Regions from separate parts of the Homo sapiens genome. Here all the other regions are linked to region 3. The links are contacts of gene promoters, found by promoter capture Hi-C in blood cells and fetal thymus (Javierre and others, 2016). All regions are on one chromosome and are shown on one strand. Each heading gives the region's core, a stretch centred on a gene start or on the middle of the fragment in contact. The rest is flanking DNA. Distances are from core to core; before and after follow the strand shown. Region 1 holds the start of CCNI (cyclin I). Region 2 overlaps CCNG2 (cyclin G2). Region 3 holds the start of USO1 (USO1 vesicle transport factor).

What was found. The method cuts DNA at HindIII sites, captures the fragments that hold promoters and counts their contacts. A CHiCAGO score of 5 or more calls a contact.
Region 1: the fragment with the promoter of CCNI here is called in contact with the fragment with the promoter of USO1 in region 3 in 1 of 17 cell types (neutrophils); the score reaches 6.7 in neutrophils.
Region 2: a fragment that was not itself captured here is called in contact with the fragment with the promoter of USO1 in region 3 in 1 of 17 cell types (neutrophils); the score reaches 5.0 in neutrophils.

What each region holds. Positions count from the first base shown.
Region 1 is chr4:77,074,739-77,079,100 of GRCh38, forward strand. It overlaps CCNI (cyclin I), which reads right to left and starts at 1,251. Exons shown (of 7, transcript NM_006835.3): 1 at 734-1,251. RefSeq lists silencers at 579-728, 789-1,138 and enhancers at 1,319-1,548, 1,447-2,417. The HindIII fragment of the contact is 6,616 bases long and covers 1-4,070 here.
Region 2 is chr4:77,166,814-77,171,705 of GRCh38, forward strand. It overlaps CCNG2 (cyclin G2), which reads left to right. Exons shown (of 8, transcript NM_004354.3): 8 at 1-3,247. Among named protein-coding and RNA genes, the nearest start is that of CCNG2, 12 kb to the left of the region's middle. The HindIII fragment of the contact is 8,657 bases long and covers 1-4,892 here.
Region 3 is chr4:75,721,072-75,725,872 of GRCh38, forward strand. It overlaps USO1 (USO1 vesicle transport factor), which reads left to right and starts at 3,506. Exons shown (of 24, transcript NM_003715.4): 1 at 3,506-3,814. The coding sequence starts at 3,749. It also overlaps a transcript of G3BP2 not described here. RefSeq lists enhancers at 2,696-3,616, 3,617-4,536, 3,633-3,712 and silencers at 3,293-3,462, 3,797-3,974. The HindIII fragment of the contact is 5,085 bases long and covers 2,007-4,801 here.

The sequences.
Region 1 (4,362 bases), core at 1-2,500, 1.4 Mb after region 3:
AAAACATAAACATTTTAGTTCAAACCCCTTCAGAGTCTGAATCCATCCTACCTCCCGAAACACCTTCCACTGTTTTGATACCCAATTGTCAACTTCTGCCAAAAGGATCTGTAACGGAGCCCCCTAGCTCCAGCGGAGGCTCCTCTGTCCTCCTTTCAAATTCCAGTTATTTAATCTAGCCTTTAGAGCACAACTCAAATCTCACCTCCCCCGGATTCCCCCCACCCACCCGCCCCAAGCCCTGGGTAACGTTGCCCTCCCCCGAATTTCACAGCACCGGAGGTTCACCCCATTCATTTGGCATTCAGTCTGCCGTGCAAAGTTAGTAATCCTCCTGGTGTCCCCGGAGAATCGTTCAACCTGAGGGTGGGGGTGTGTCCCCTTCTTTGTGTATTAACACGGGCTCGTAGAGCCTCCAACACGCACTATAGAGTAGCTAATTTGCCGCTGCCACAAAAAAAAGTTACTCGCTGACAGAAAAACTGGCCCGAAAAGGAACACAGTAGTGCCGTTTTCAAGTGGGCAGGTGACGGGTCTGTCTGGGCCGGAGAGGACGAAGAGGGCGGCCCCGAGGTTCCCCGGGCTGGGGGATGCGGGAGGGTGGGTCTCCGGCGAGCAGCGCGCGGCCAAGGGCGCTGCCACGGGGGCGGCGCGGGGGGAGCAGCGGGGCCCCAGCGCGTCGACGCCGGCCGCGGAGACGCGTCGAGCCCCCGCCCCCGCCCCCGCCCCTCACCTTCTCCTCCTCTTCCTCCTCCTCCTCCTCCCCGGCAGAGCTGTAGGCCTCACAGTGGTGACGCGGGGTCATCCGGGGGCCCGTTACCACCTCATTCTCATAGGCGCGCGGAGGCGGTGCGCGCGGGACGACTCGGCCAACTGAGGAGGGAGAAAGGGGAAGCGGATCGGGGGGCGCGGGCGCGGGCGCTGGCGCTCGAGCGGGACGCACGGCTGCGGCCGCTGGGTCGGTCAGCGAATTAGTTCCATGATGACCCCCGGCCTGAGGCCGCCGCCGCTCGAGCCCGGGTTGGGAGGGGGCTCCCTCTCGCCATAGGGCGGCGGGGGCCGGGGAGAGGCGGGGGGTGAGACCGGCTCTGCCCCTGCCCGGGGAAAGCGCCTCCGAGGGGAAATGGTGAAAGGGGGGGAGGGGAGAAAAGAAAAGAAAAAAAAAAAAAGAAAGGGGAAAGGGGGGAAAAATAAGAAAAAGCGAGACAGAGGCGCTGCCGCGTCCGCTCGCGGGGAAGGCTGGGGAGGGAGGGGAAGAGAGGGGAAGGGAGGAAGAAGTGCCGGCTTCCTCGGCTCCGCCCTCGCGGACCGATTCCTAGACTCGCCCACTCCTTGTAAACTACGCGGACTTGGTCTTTCACCCTTCCTGTTCCTCCCCGCCGCCTTCCCGGTCCAACGAAAGTACAGAGAAGTGCGGCCGAAAGGAGACGGGCTGGGGAAGTCGTTGGCACTAGGATGGAAGGAGGGAGGACGTTTTCTCGTGGCTAAGAAAAGCCGAAGGTCCGTGGACTCATTTTCCTTGAAGGAGCGGAAGGGTTGCTTGCAGACCGCACGGTGACGTCAGCGTCTCTGGGCCCCCACTGAGGGGGCGTGCGGTGGCCGGAGAGTGCGCTGCGCATGCGCCTGGGGAAGAAAGAAGCGGCCGAGCGCTGCGCTTGGGGGAGGGGATTTCACGATCCGCTCCTGTGGTCCAGCTTTACAGCAGCTTGGTTTTATCTAGCCCTACTCGTCCCCAGGCTCTTAGAAGGATTCACTGGGAAGGGGCTACTGATCTCTTGGGTGGAGATCTTGCAGATTTGTTGACCTAGCAAAGTATTACGTGTTCTTACCGTTGACATGTAAATAGAATTGCGGTTTTTCTCACTGCCACATTGTGTGGGTGGAGGGAGATTCTAAAGGGTTTTAGGAATCGGAAAATTAGGGAGAATCAAATCATGGGTGCTTAAGGCCTCAGTGAAACACTGTAAATTATACTGCTGACGGCGAGGAACCTGCTTGGCAATGTGGCAAGGGGATTTTATCCACTCAACCAACACGTCTGAGTATTTCCGAATAGGTTTTATTACCAGGTGCTTAAAGAATGTGTGGTGACATAAATGGGTTTTATTTGGGGTTCTGTTAGTACAAACGGTAACTTTTTGCTATTTTGATTGTTTTAATTATTTAAAAATATGTAGTATTACAGAGTTTTGAAAGAGGAAGAGCTAGATCTCAACCATTTATAGAAGTCTCGTTTGTTTTTTCCATTTGTTTTTTATATAGTTATTTTAACTGTCAGTGAAAAAATATGTGTTGAGTTTATTTAGTGGCCAGACTCAGCAAACTGGAAGTAGCCAAGACAGACATAGCTCCTGCCTTCATGGAGTTTACAGTCCAAACAGAGGATAACCATTGAGCTAATTATCACTATGTAAAATTACCAAGTACATTTACTTGTTTACTTGTGCATGTATCCCCTCCCTAGAATATAAGGTCGCAGGCGGCAGGGATCTTGCATGTTTCACCCTCTATCCCTGTGTATAAAAGGCTCTCAATATTTGACCAAGTAAACAATTCTGGTATTAAAACCGTTAAGATGGAAAATCGCCGGCTGCTGTGGAAACGCTTGCCTTTCCGCCTGGTTTGGGATATCAGAGAAGGTTTTTCTGAAGAAGTGACATTTAAGATGAGACTTGAAACCACTGGGCAAAGAATGATACAAGCAGAGGAAGTTATGTGAAAAGGCTCCGAAGCTGAGACGTTCTAAAAATCTCTGAAAGCTAGTGTGGCTGGCCCTCAGACAACTGAGGCAGGATGTGGAAGCAGAGGACAGATGCCATAGAACAGAAGAAGGAATGGGAAGCCCTAGGAGGATTTCAAGTGGGTTGTATCCTTTTTTTTTCTTTTTTTCACTTCATGTAGCCTATTATTATATGGTCTTCATTCAAAAAAGCCACCATTTTTCTGCATGTTACTCTTGAGACTGTAGCATTTCTGCATAATACTATTGAGAGTGTAACATAATTCCATTGTTAGACCATGAAATTGCTTCTGATTTTCACTCCAATAAGAATAATGCAAATTCCACTCCTAAATATATACCCAAGAGAAAGGAAAATATTTGTCCATGCAAAAACTTTTTTACAAACGTTAGCATTATTCATAATAGCCAAAGATGAAACAACCTAAATGTTCATCAGCTGGCGCCTGTATAAATCAAATGTGATACATCTATGTACAATCAAATTTTTATTTTTAAGAGATGGGGTCTGGCTCCGTGGCGCAGATGGGGGTGCCATGAGACTTCCTATGTTGTCCAGGCTGGTCTCAAACTCCTGGCCTCTAGCAATTCTCCCTCCTTAGCCTGAAAGTGATGGGATTACAGGCATGAGCCGTCACACCGACCTATACAATGGAATCTTATTGGGCCATAAAAAGAAAATACTAATACATGCTATAACATGCATAACCTTTGAAAGCAGTATGCTAAATGAAAGAAGCCAGTCACAAAAGACCACATATTATATGATTCCACTTACGTGAATGTCCAGAATAGGCAAATATATAGAGACAGAAAGTAAGGAAGTGGTTGCTTAGGGCTAGGGGCAGGCATGGGATTAGGGGATGATAGTTAAATGATATGGGGGTTTCTTTCTTTTTTTCTTTTCTTTTTTTCTTTTTTTTTTTTTTGGAAACAGGGCCTTGCTCTGTCCCCCAGGCTGCAGGCTGGAGTGCAATGGTGTGAACATGACTCACTGTAGCCTTGACCTCCAGGATCAAGCAATCCTCCTGCCTCAGCCTCCTGTGTAGCTGGAACCACAGGCGCATGCCTCCATGCCCAACTGATTTTTTGAAGGTTTCTTTTTGAGGTGAGAAAAATGTTCTGAGATTGATTGTGTTGATGGTTGCGCAACTGTGAATATTTAGGTTGAGTATTATCCAAAATATTTGAGACCAGAAGTATTTTGAATTTTAAACTTTTTTTTCAGTTTTGGAAATGTTTGCATTAAATTATATACTTACTGGTTGAGCAACCTAGTCTGAAAATCCAAAATGAGCATTTCCTCTGAGTGTCATGTTGGCACTCAAAAAGCTTTGGATTTTGGAGCATTTCAGATTTTTGTATCAGGGATATGCAACCTGTACTAAAAACCATTGAATTGTACACTTTAAATGTATTACTTCTATGGTGTTTGAATTATAATAAAGCTGCTACCCAAAAAATGAAAAACAAAAATAATTCAATTAACATCTTCATAACCTCTTTGGGGCTATTCCTAGGTCCAACAATATTATGTTTTTATGGCTTTTACTGAATACCAGTTGCCAGTTGCAAGGCAGAAGATTAAACCAATTAAAATGTTACCAGGAGTCTTTAAGAGC
Region 2 (4,892 bases), core at 244-2,743, 1.4 Mb after region 3:
GTATTGCTATATGGGTGCCAAGATTGAATATGAAGAACCCGAGTGTTTGTAGTATTATAGTTTTAAGCAAATCTGTGTGGTGATACAGCCATAAGAATGGGGCTTATATAAACTCTGTACATGTAAGATTTTGTACAGAGAATTTTTAACTTTATAAATTGTATATGAACATGTAAATCTTTTAAAATGTACATAAAATACTGTATTTTTTTACCTTGTGTGTGATAGTCTAGTCATTGCATGTAAATATAATTTATTATGTATTCTGTAGTATAAATCATACATTGATGACTTACATTTTTACTGGTAAGTCAACATCCGTTGGATGTTTTCTGAAGTGGCTCTTTTTGAAGTGATAATAGATTGTAATTCAAAATAAAATTATTAATGAATTCTCCTTGTTTGGGATCACATCTTAATTTTTAATCTGTTAAAAGTTCTTGATGTATTTTAATGAGAAGACTTTAGGTGAGGCTACAGTGATTCCAGAGTGAGCCTTCTAACTGGCTAGCAGAAGTTCTCTAGGTTTGGCATCTGTGCCTTGGAGATACTGAAAGAGAATCTGTCATTTGACAATTGACCTCTTTGTGGGATGGACTCATTAAGTATGCTCTCAGAGACTGGTATATTACCAGAATGCCTATTAATTTTCAGTGAGAGGCAACAGGTATTAAGTAGAACAGAATGCTCAGGTTGGCAGATTAGAACGATCTTTCAGGAGACAAAGCAAGTTTTAATCAGTTGTTTGGTTAATAAGTATGGGGTGTTCGCTGTGATAGGGCCCCGCCAGCTTCTGGCTCTTGTGGACCTCAAAAGTATCAGGTGGTTTTGCAAGTGGTGGTCCTTTCCCCTGCCCCACCCCAATAGGTTCCCCATCTGTCTAGTTTGATTTTTGTAGACCTTTGTTTTCTCTAGTTAGAAAATCAGGTACACTGAATATGGTTTTCATGTAACACCTCTTCTCTGGAGATAGGGGTATGTTTTCCTACCCTTCTAGTGGAGAATCCTACTTGAGGATGACCTTTCCTCTCTTACTAAATAATATTAGTAAATAGTGGGCAATATATTCTGCTTTCAGATTTTGATTTGTTGAGATGTAAAAGTTGTTTGGGGCTTACCAAATCTCAAGACTCTCTTTAGCTCCTGCAGGATTGTATTGCTTTTCTTACTGGATATTTTTCCTGGGTAAGCATCTTTGTGGCTTCATCTCTTCCCCCTGTGGTTTTCAGTGTATTTAGTCGAGACCTCTCTGCTGAGCTTGCAACCTGTTTATTCACATGGCCTGCCATGCCACTTGGAGGTTTCTGATTACTCCCAAACCTGCTGGTTCTTTATGTCTTTCTCAGCGAATAATTCCATCTATTCATGTTGGAAACTTAGGTGATATGCTCATCTCCTTTTGCCTGTTTATGGAGGTCACCAGCCTCTATCATTTGTATGATTTCGTTTACACTGTTTATATCTCTCTGTCCCCCCTTTTTCTGCCATTGGCATGGTTTAGACCTGTACTCTTTATCAGCAGAGGTACTGTAATATATTTGTGATCCCTCAGCTTCCAGGCTTACTCCTGGTCTCTGCCTTCCTATCTACATATCCTTTTAAAATAAAATTTTAACTATCTCCTGAAAAATTGTTGAGTAGGTCACGCACAATCAGGAGAAAAATCTATTCATGACATACAAGTCTCTGTCTAATCTGAACACTGCACCTGTCTCTGGCCTTTTTTTCTTGTCATTTCCTAGACCTTAAAAAATGTGTATTGAGAAAGAACTCTGTTAGCTATACAGAAGATGAACTGGGCAATATAGAGTAGCAGCATGGAGACCAGTCTGACTGAACTAAGGCAGTGGAAGTGTGGATGAGGAAGAGAGGTGAAAATTGAGAAGCGCTATCCTTTCTCTTTGGGCATTATTAGGAGGCTCACAGACAAGTCCAGGAGCCTGGTTATACCCTCCTGTGCCATTCAACCAGGTGGCTTTCCCATGACTGTGATGAATAAAATTGAGAAGCCCCTGCCCTTTTCAGAGCAGAGGGTGAGGAGAAAGCTACCATTTTGTCCTCATCCTTACCCCCGTTGACTTGGCGAGAGATTTGACCTTTCAGGTTTTGATCCTGTCATTTTCTAGGATGTGGTGCACGCACTTTGCTGTTGCGCATGGTGAAGTATTGTGCCTAGGTCCTGGGTCTTCATCTGTTTGGCTCTGCTACTGTTTCCTCCTCCCAGGAAGTGTGGTTAGACAAATAATGTGTTTTAATTACCTGTCACACTCAGGATTAATACATACTCAGGTTAACTGTAGAGAGGCATTGGCTTCAGAACACTCCTCGTGACAATTTTAACCATTTTCTTTGTCTAGAGTCTGCCTTTTTCTTTTTTACAATTTCTTTTATTTCAACACTAGGTTTCAATATGGTGTTCCTGCTACCTCCCACCTCCCTCCTCCCTCATCACACATGCAAATTGTCAGCTTATTGAGACAACCCACTTAGATTCATATATGGACAAGGACAAGGTATTTTGCATTTGTTACTGGAATTCAGTTTTCCTAACTATTTACTACCAGAAATGGTCAATAACTTACTTTGTGTTTAGCAAATCAAATTGTGTGATAGATAGTTTCCCAGTATGATGGCCAGTCAGTCTTTCCATCCCTGTGCCTACATGCTGCTCTTCCCGTCCACAAGTGGAGTCTGTTTCTCTTGAGTTTTGGCTGGCCTTATGAATGGCTTTGCTTACTGAAGTGCAGCAGAAGAAATTTAGTATATGTCCAAGCCTAGGCTTTAAGAGACTGGCAGCTTTCCTTTTATCCTTTTTGGAAGCTAGCCACCATGCTGCAAAGAAGCTCAGCTGGATTACTGAAAGATGAGAGGCCATGTGGAGAGAGACTCTTGAGGATGAGAGATTATCTTGGATGTTCCAGCCTTAAGCTCCCAGCTGAATGTGGGTGTATCCTCAGCTACACCACAGAAAACAGAGGAACTACTCAGTCGATCCCAATCAACCCACAGACTCACTAGAAATAACAAATTATTGTTTTAAGCCACGAGGTTTTGGGGGAGGGTTGTTAAACAGTAATAGATAAGTGAGACAGATTGCTTGTTATTTATGGTCAAATGGTGATTATCTCTGGTGAGATTACAGGTGATGTTTTTTTTAAGTTATGCCTATCTGTAGTTTCCTTTTTTTCCTAAAATTGATTTGAATTATTAGTGTATTAACAGAATAAAGAATGAACTTTAAAACACACACGCTGGTTATATGCTTCCTCTAATTAAAATTCATGGCTCTCACCACACCTTAGCATCAAGTTCCAACTTCGTACTGCGGCTTAGAAGACCCAGCTTGATTTGTTCCCGGCTCCCTTTTCAGCCTTGTTTCATGGCATCCACATCCACGTATTTCCCAGGCCCACTACATCTGAGATGAGTCAGAGACCCCTCTTAGGGGCCTGTTCCCTACTCCCAAACATGGAAATTAAAAAAAAAATCGTGAGTTCTTCCAAGAGAAATTCCAGGCATCTGGCTAGCCCTGAGAAGTAAGAGAGAAATGTGATAAGCAACAAATAGCGGCTCAAAACAATAGCCAAGTAAGTTAGAATCATGGGATGTTTGGTTCCCCTATAGAAACTACAGATAACATCTTAATATATATCCCTGAGTTGTTTTCCAGAAACCTGAACCCCTAGCAAATGGATGCGCTAGCACATAGACCTCAGATAAGAGGGAGCTGAGGACTGAACTCTGACCACCGTTCTTTGTTCTAAATTTCTTCCTGAGAGGCCTGGAGGAGGTCATGCCCATGAGCCAGAGATTACATTTTTTTCTGTAGATTTCAAATGTTGAGACAAAACGTCATCTCCTTAACCAATCGCACACTAGAAAGTCTTTGAATCCACCCCCACTTCGAGATGCCTTGCCTTTTTAGGTCAAACCAATGTATAGTCTCTATGTATTGATTTCTGACTTCGCCTGTAACCTCTGCCTTTCTGCCTTTAAAAACTCTTACCTGTAAACCATCTGGGAAATTGGGATTTAAGTCTTAGATGCCTGATCCTTCTTTGGTGCCCCGCAAATAAATGTTTTCCTTTCTCCTGCTGCAAACCTCAGTGTGGCTATCTGATCTTGCTGGGCCGGGTGGGTGGACCCCAGTTCTGTTTGATAACACCCCACTCACCATGCTTTTGCTCACTTCAGTGCCTTGATGCACACCATTTCCTCTGGCTAGAACACCTTGGCACCCTCATCTGGCAAACCTACTTACTACCTTAGGACTCCCTTCATTGACTTACTCATTCACCCATCAGATATTTGAATGCTTTGTGTGTCAGGCACACTTGTGTTGCTATGGAATGCCAAACACAACAAACCCTATCCCTGCCCTCGAGGAACTTACAGTCTAGTAGCAGAACCCAAAAATTCATGGCAAATAATAAAATGTTCAGGCTGGATGCGATGGCTCACGCCTATAATCCTAGCACCTTGGGAAGCCAAAGTGGGTGGATCACCTGAGGTCAGGAATTTGAGACCAGACTGGCCAACATGGTGAAAACCCATCTCTACTAAAAATAAAAAAATTAGCTGGGCATGGTGGCGGATGCCTGAGGCTGAGACAAGAGAATCGCTTGAACCCAGGAGGCAGAGGTTGTAGTGAGCTAAGATCACACCACTGCACTCAGCCTGGGTGACCGAGTGAGACTCCATCTCAACCACAACACCACCAAATAAATAAATAAATCATGTTAAAAGGCTGTGACAATTTTTTCTTCCAAGAAATCTTTCTGGAACTCCCTGACTTTCCTCTCTTTGTCAGTGTTACATGTTTCCATAAAACCCTACATTTTTTCTTATCCTAGAAATTAATATCTTGCTTGTGTGTCCCACTTATCTGCTAA
Region 3 (4,801 bases), core at 2,256-4,755:
GAGTTCCAGGATGTATGTGCCACCACGCCGAGCTAATTTTGTATTTTTAGTAGACAACGGGGTTTCTCCATGTTGGTCAGGCTGGTCTGGAACTCCCAACTTCAGGTGATCCGTCCACCTCAGCCTCCCAAAGTGCTGGGATTACAGGCGTGAGCCACCTCGCCCAGCCTCAACTAGTCTTTTTTTTTTTTTTTTGGGACAGGGTCTCACTCCATCCTCCCAGCTGGAATGCAGTGGCACAATCATGGCTCAATGCAGCCTTGATCTCCCAGGCTCCAGCGATCCTCCCACACCCTCCCAAGTAAGTGGGACTACTGGCTGGGAATACAGGCGCATGCCACCATGCTCAGCTAATATTTTATTTTTTGTAGAGACAGGGTTTTGCCACATTGCCCAGGCTGGTGTTGAACTCCTGAGCTTAAATGATCCTCCCACCTTGGCCTCCCAAAGTGCTGGGATTATAGCCATGAGCTACGTCTTTAAAAACCTATATACGATACTGAAGGGGCTTATAACCTACCAAAATAATAAATAAATAAAAACCTATATATGATAGATTTCAAATACAAATGATCATTTATATTTATCCTCCCAAGCAGGCATAGACAACATTCCACCTTACTACCACCCCAACTAAAAAACAATCTTATGCAATTATATTTCGTTGTTTTTGCGAGTTTTCCACTAGAAAGTTAAGTGGGCCACTGAAAAAAGCAATTTGAAAAAATGAATTTCAAACCAATGAATTTTGTTCGTTGATCTATTGTCAGGTTTGGTTTAGAAAAAGATCACTCTTAATTTTGATTATATGTATTTTAATGATTCATAGGACTCTTATCCTGAATGCTTAGATTTATGAAAGCCAGAAGTATTAACAGTGCAAGTCAGGCCGTCACAATTTGTTCAAGTTTTCTCTTCCTTTATTAACTCAGGTAGTTCCTGAGCATCTACCATATTAAAGGAATTATACTAGATGATTAAAGGATGCAAACAGGAATACAACACAGTCCCTGACTTTTCTCCCTCTACAAAATCAGTAGAAGTGGATTAATATGTAACTCTTCCTCTGAAATAAGGAGTCTATTTCATGGTTGTTCTGTAGTGACAATGCCTCGGGGATCCCACCTTCATCACCTTTGCACCCAACTGTCCATCACTCCTGTGCAGGGGATGCTGCTGGGGAAGAAAACAGGTCAAATGCAGGGAAAATTCATAGTAAGCTGTTACTACTACACTCACGAAAGTATAGTAACCTACTTTACTCACTGAAGTACAGTAACCTACTGTACCCACCAAAGTTTAAAACAAAACAGGACATTTGACAAGGCTGGTGCCTTTAAACAACTTTGCTAAAATGTCAAGGCACTCTTTTTAATTATTAAATAAGAGGAGTAATAGACATTTGTGGCCCACTCCGTCTATGAGCCTCATTCCTGATGATGGGGTAGAGTGAGTTTCAGGGACAAGGTGAAGTGAGGTTCAGGGAGGGGTGAGGCTTAGGGGCTTAAGTGAAGTTCTTTGCATGCATTTCTTAGTAACAAAAATGCTGAGTAATTTACTGGTTACTTTTTTTAGGCTGCAACAAAATGCTCCCATGGAAAATGTCTACGGTAAAATGTCAAGTGTATAGCTTTAAAGCAGAGGACAATGCTTAGCGCACAGTATTTTTGGCAGTATGACCCCACCATTCTCCAAGTTGCCCAGGCTTAAAATGTTGGCACTAGGAAACACATAGCTTATGATGTCTTCCCTACAATTTCACTTTACAGATTAAAAAAAGGGAACCTCCTCTTAGTATAATATTCATATATTCTTTCAATAATTTATTCATTTATCCATCAATATCACCTTTTATGAGACAGTGGTAAGCAACAGAGATATAAAATGAATAACATAGTCCTGCCCTTAACAGTTTGGTTTAGCAAGCATTTATTCAATGTACACCATATACAGTATCAATAACTGCAAAGTGCTAACATATAGATGTGTACCTACATTTTAGGGAAAGCTTTCAAGAATGATGTCAGAGTTGAGCCTTAAGGAATTAGCAGGAGTTTGCTTGATGAAGAGAAAGGAAGGGAAGGGCATATCCAGGTCTGAGAAAAATGCCCAGAGTATGTGGGGGAGGCAGGAGCTGAAAAAGTAGGCAGGAGCTAAATCATAACAGGCCTGTATGACAAACTAAGGAGTTTGCACTTTATTCTGGACAGAATGGGGAACAACTGGAGGATTTTAAGAGGAATGACATGAACAGATGTTTTGTTGTTGTTAGTCTCACCCAAGGATGGACTGGAGATTGGACTGGAAGGAAGCCAGGGCTGAATGCAGACAAACTAATTAGGAGGCTGTTGCTGTCATCTCAATGAGAAATGATGAGAAGAACATAATCTATGTCACAGGCACAGAGGATGGAGAGCAGAACACCTATTTGAGAAATATTCTATAAATAGAAATGATAGGACATGACTATTGATTGGACATGTGTGGGTGGAAAGCCAGAGTCTAAGATTCTTCCCAGCTTCCTCTGTCTAGCTTAGGCAATTATTTGGACAGTGGTACTACTGAGCACGGCACGCACACAGTAGAAGCAGCATATTGACTTTTTTTCTTTAAGGGAGGCAGGGAAAGATGACGAGTTCAATTTTAAATGCTGAATCTGAGACCTGTGGGGAATCCAAGGGGAGAGGTGCATGAGTCAGTTAGCTAACTAGACCTGTGCTTTTTAGCCTCAAGAAATTTACAAGACTATTCCAGAAGCATGTGTACTGACAACCTCACTGCCAAAGGAACAGGCATACCAATTAGAGAAAATGACAATTTTTCATGTTAAAAAAAAAAAAACTGAAAACACAGGGGTTGAGAGTTAATAACGAAACATTATGTTACTCGCCAAACTGACACAGCAGAACAATGTATTTCTCTAGTAAGCTAAATGTAGGGTTTGATGGGTTTCCTCCTGACGACACTTGAAAATAGAGGTGTACCTGGTGTTTAGATCTAGGAATTCCTTTCAGCAGGTTTGAAGAGCAAGAGCTGAGAAATGCGCCCTCCAGTGGCAGTGGAATGAGGGGTGTCTAGTAACCCTTTTTACCACCAAACAAAGCCCTGTAAAGAAATGCAATTTACCGGGATCAGAAAGCCACAATGCTGGTACCAGTAAACCGTCAAACCAAGCGAACCCTCTCAGGCGCCAGGAAGCCTTACCTGTCACGTTGGCCAAAGGAAAATTTCACTTTCGACTCAACAAAATAAGACCTCAGATTTGATAGCTTGCAGTAAGTCCCGCTTGGCGACGATTAAACACCCTGCAAGTCGAAACGCGTAGTCTAATCAAATCCTCTCCAGCCTGCAGGGCCGGGCTTCCACCACGTGGGTGGCTGCGGCCAGCAGGATCAATCCGCGAAGGGTGGGGGTAGGAGGCGTGCCCCTGCGGTGGGAGGCGGGGTCTGCGCAGTGGGTGGGGCTTCGGCGGAACCTAGCTAAGAGGTTCCTCTCGCCTCCGCTCCCCTTTTGCCTTCAACCTTCGAGCCGCCACGTAATGCCACGTCCCCGCGCATGCGCATCTTGGCCGCTGCTGGCGGCTGTTTCCGGGCTTAGAGGGCTGGAGTGGCCGCCGAGTTGGAGGCGGTGGTGGCAGCAGTAGGAGTGTGTAGAGTGCGGGATTGGGGCCCAGGCCCTGCGGAGGGCGGGGGAAGTTGTCTTCTTTTTTTTCCGGAGGGGCCGGTAAACCTGGTGGCTGAACGGCAAGATGAATTTCCTCCGCGGGGTAATGGGGGGTCAGAGTGCCGGACCCCAGCACACAGAAGCCGAGACGGTGAGAGGAGCAGCGGGTCTGGGACTTGGGAAGGGGTCCGGGCAGGGACGGGGACGGAGCACTCGGAGACCCGAAGGTCACCTCCAGCGTCCCACCATGGAGGGGGCATCCACATGCCGCCTCCCCCTTTGCCCTCCTTCCGCTCCTGAAATCCCAGAGTTATTCAATCACGCCCCCAGCTCAGTCCCCATTGCTGCCGTTCGGCCGGACTGACGGCGGCCGCGCCCCGCAGCTCTGTAGGCCCTGAAGCTCGGGCTAGGAGAGTGGTCCGCAGGTGGTACCGCACGGGAAGGGACGGATGCGCGGCCGAGCTGGCCCGAACTGCCTCCCACGCCCCTCGGGGCCGTGGGCCCCTCCCTCTTTCTCTTTCGCTCGTCTGCACTGGCCGAGAGGAGCCTGAAGTCCTGCTCCCTCCCTCGCAGTCTGAAACTGGGGCGTTGGGGAAAACTGCGAGAAGGTTTAAAACCCAGCTGTTGGTGAGAGCATTTGGCTAAGAATAAAACGATATTCTTTGAAGGACAAATCCACCTGCTCCTGTCCCATCAACTGGAAGAGCGGTCGTTCTGCCTGGTGTTATTTGTTCAGATCCGGCTTTTCGGGCTCACCCAAATATATATCATTTGGCAAATGCTACCTTGAACGTAGTAGGGATCTTAAGCGCTCAAACTGCTTTGGGGACACGTCCACCGCTTTCTGCCTGAACTCCTAATGACATGATTTGCGGCGTTATTTAAAAAAAAAAAAAAATGGTTAGCCGCTGAAAACATTATTTAATAGTTGCTTAGATTCTAGGTTTAGAATACACTTATTTTGAAGTTTGGTTAGTGTTTAATGGAATCGAGGGTGTATGCCTTTTTGAAATAAACTTTTTATTTGAGAAGAATTTTAGATCTACATAAAAGAGACTAAGTATAACACTTTAATGGCTAACTTTGTTAATGGGATCCTGAGGGATAATATAGTAGCTTTCATTTGTCAGGCTCTTAC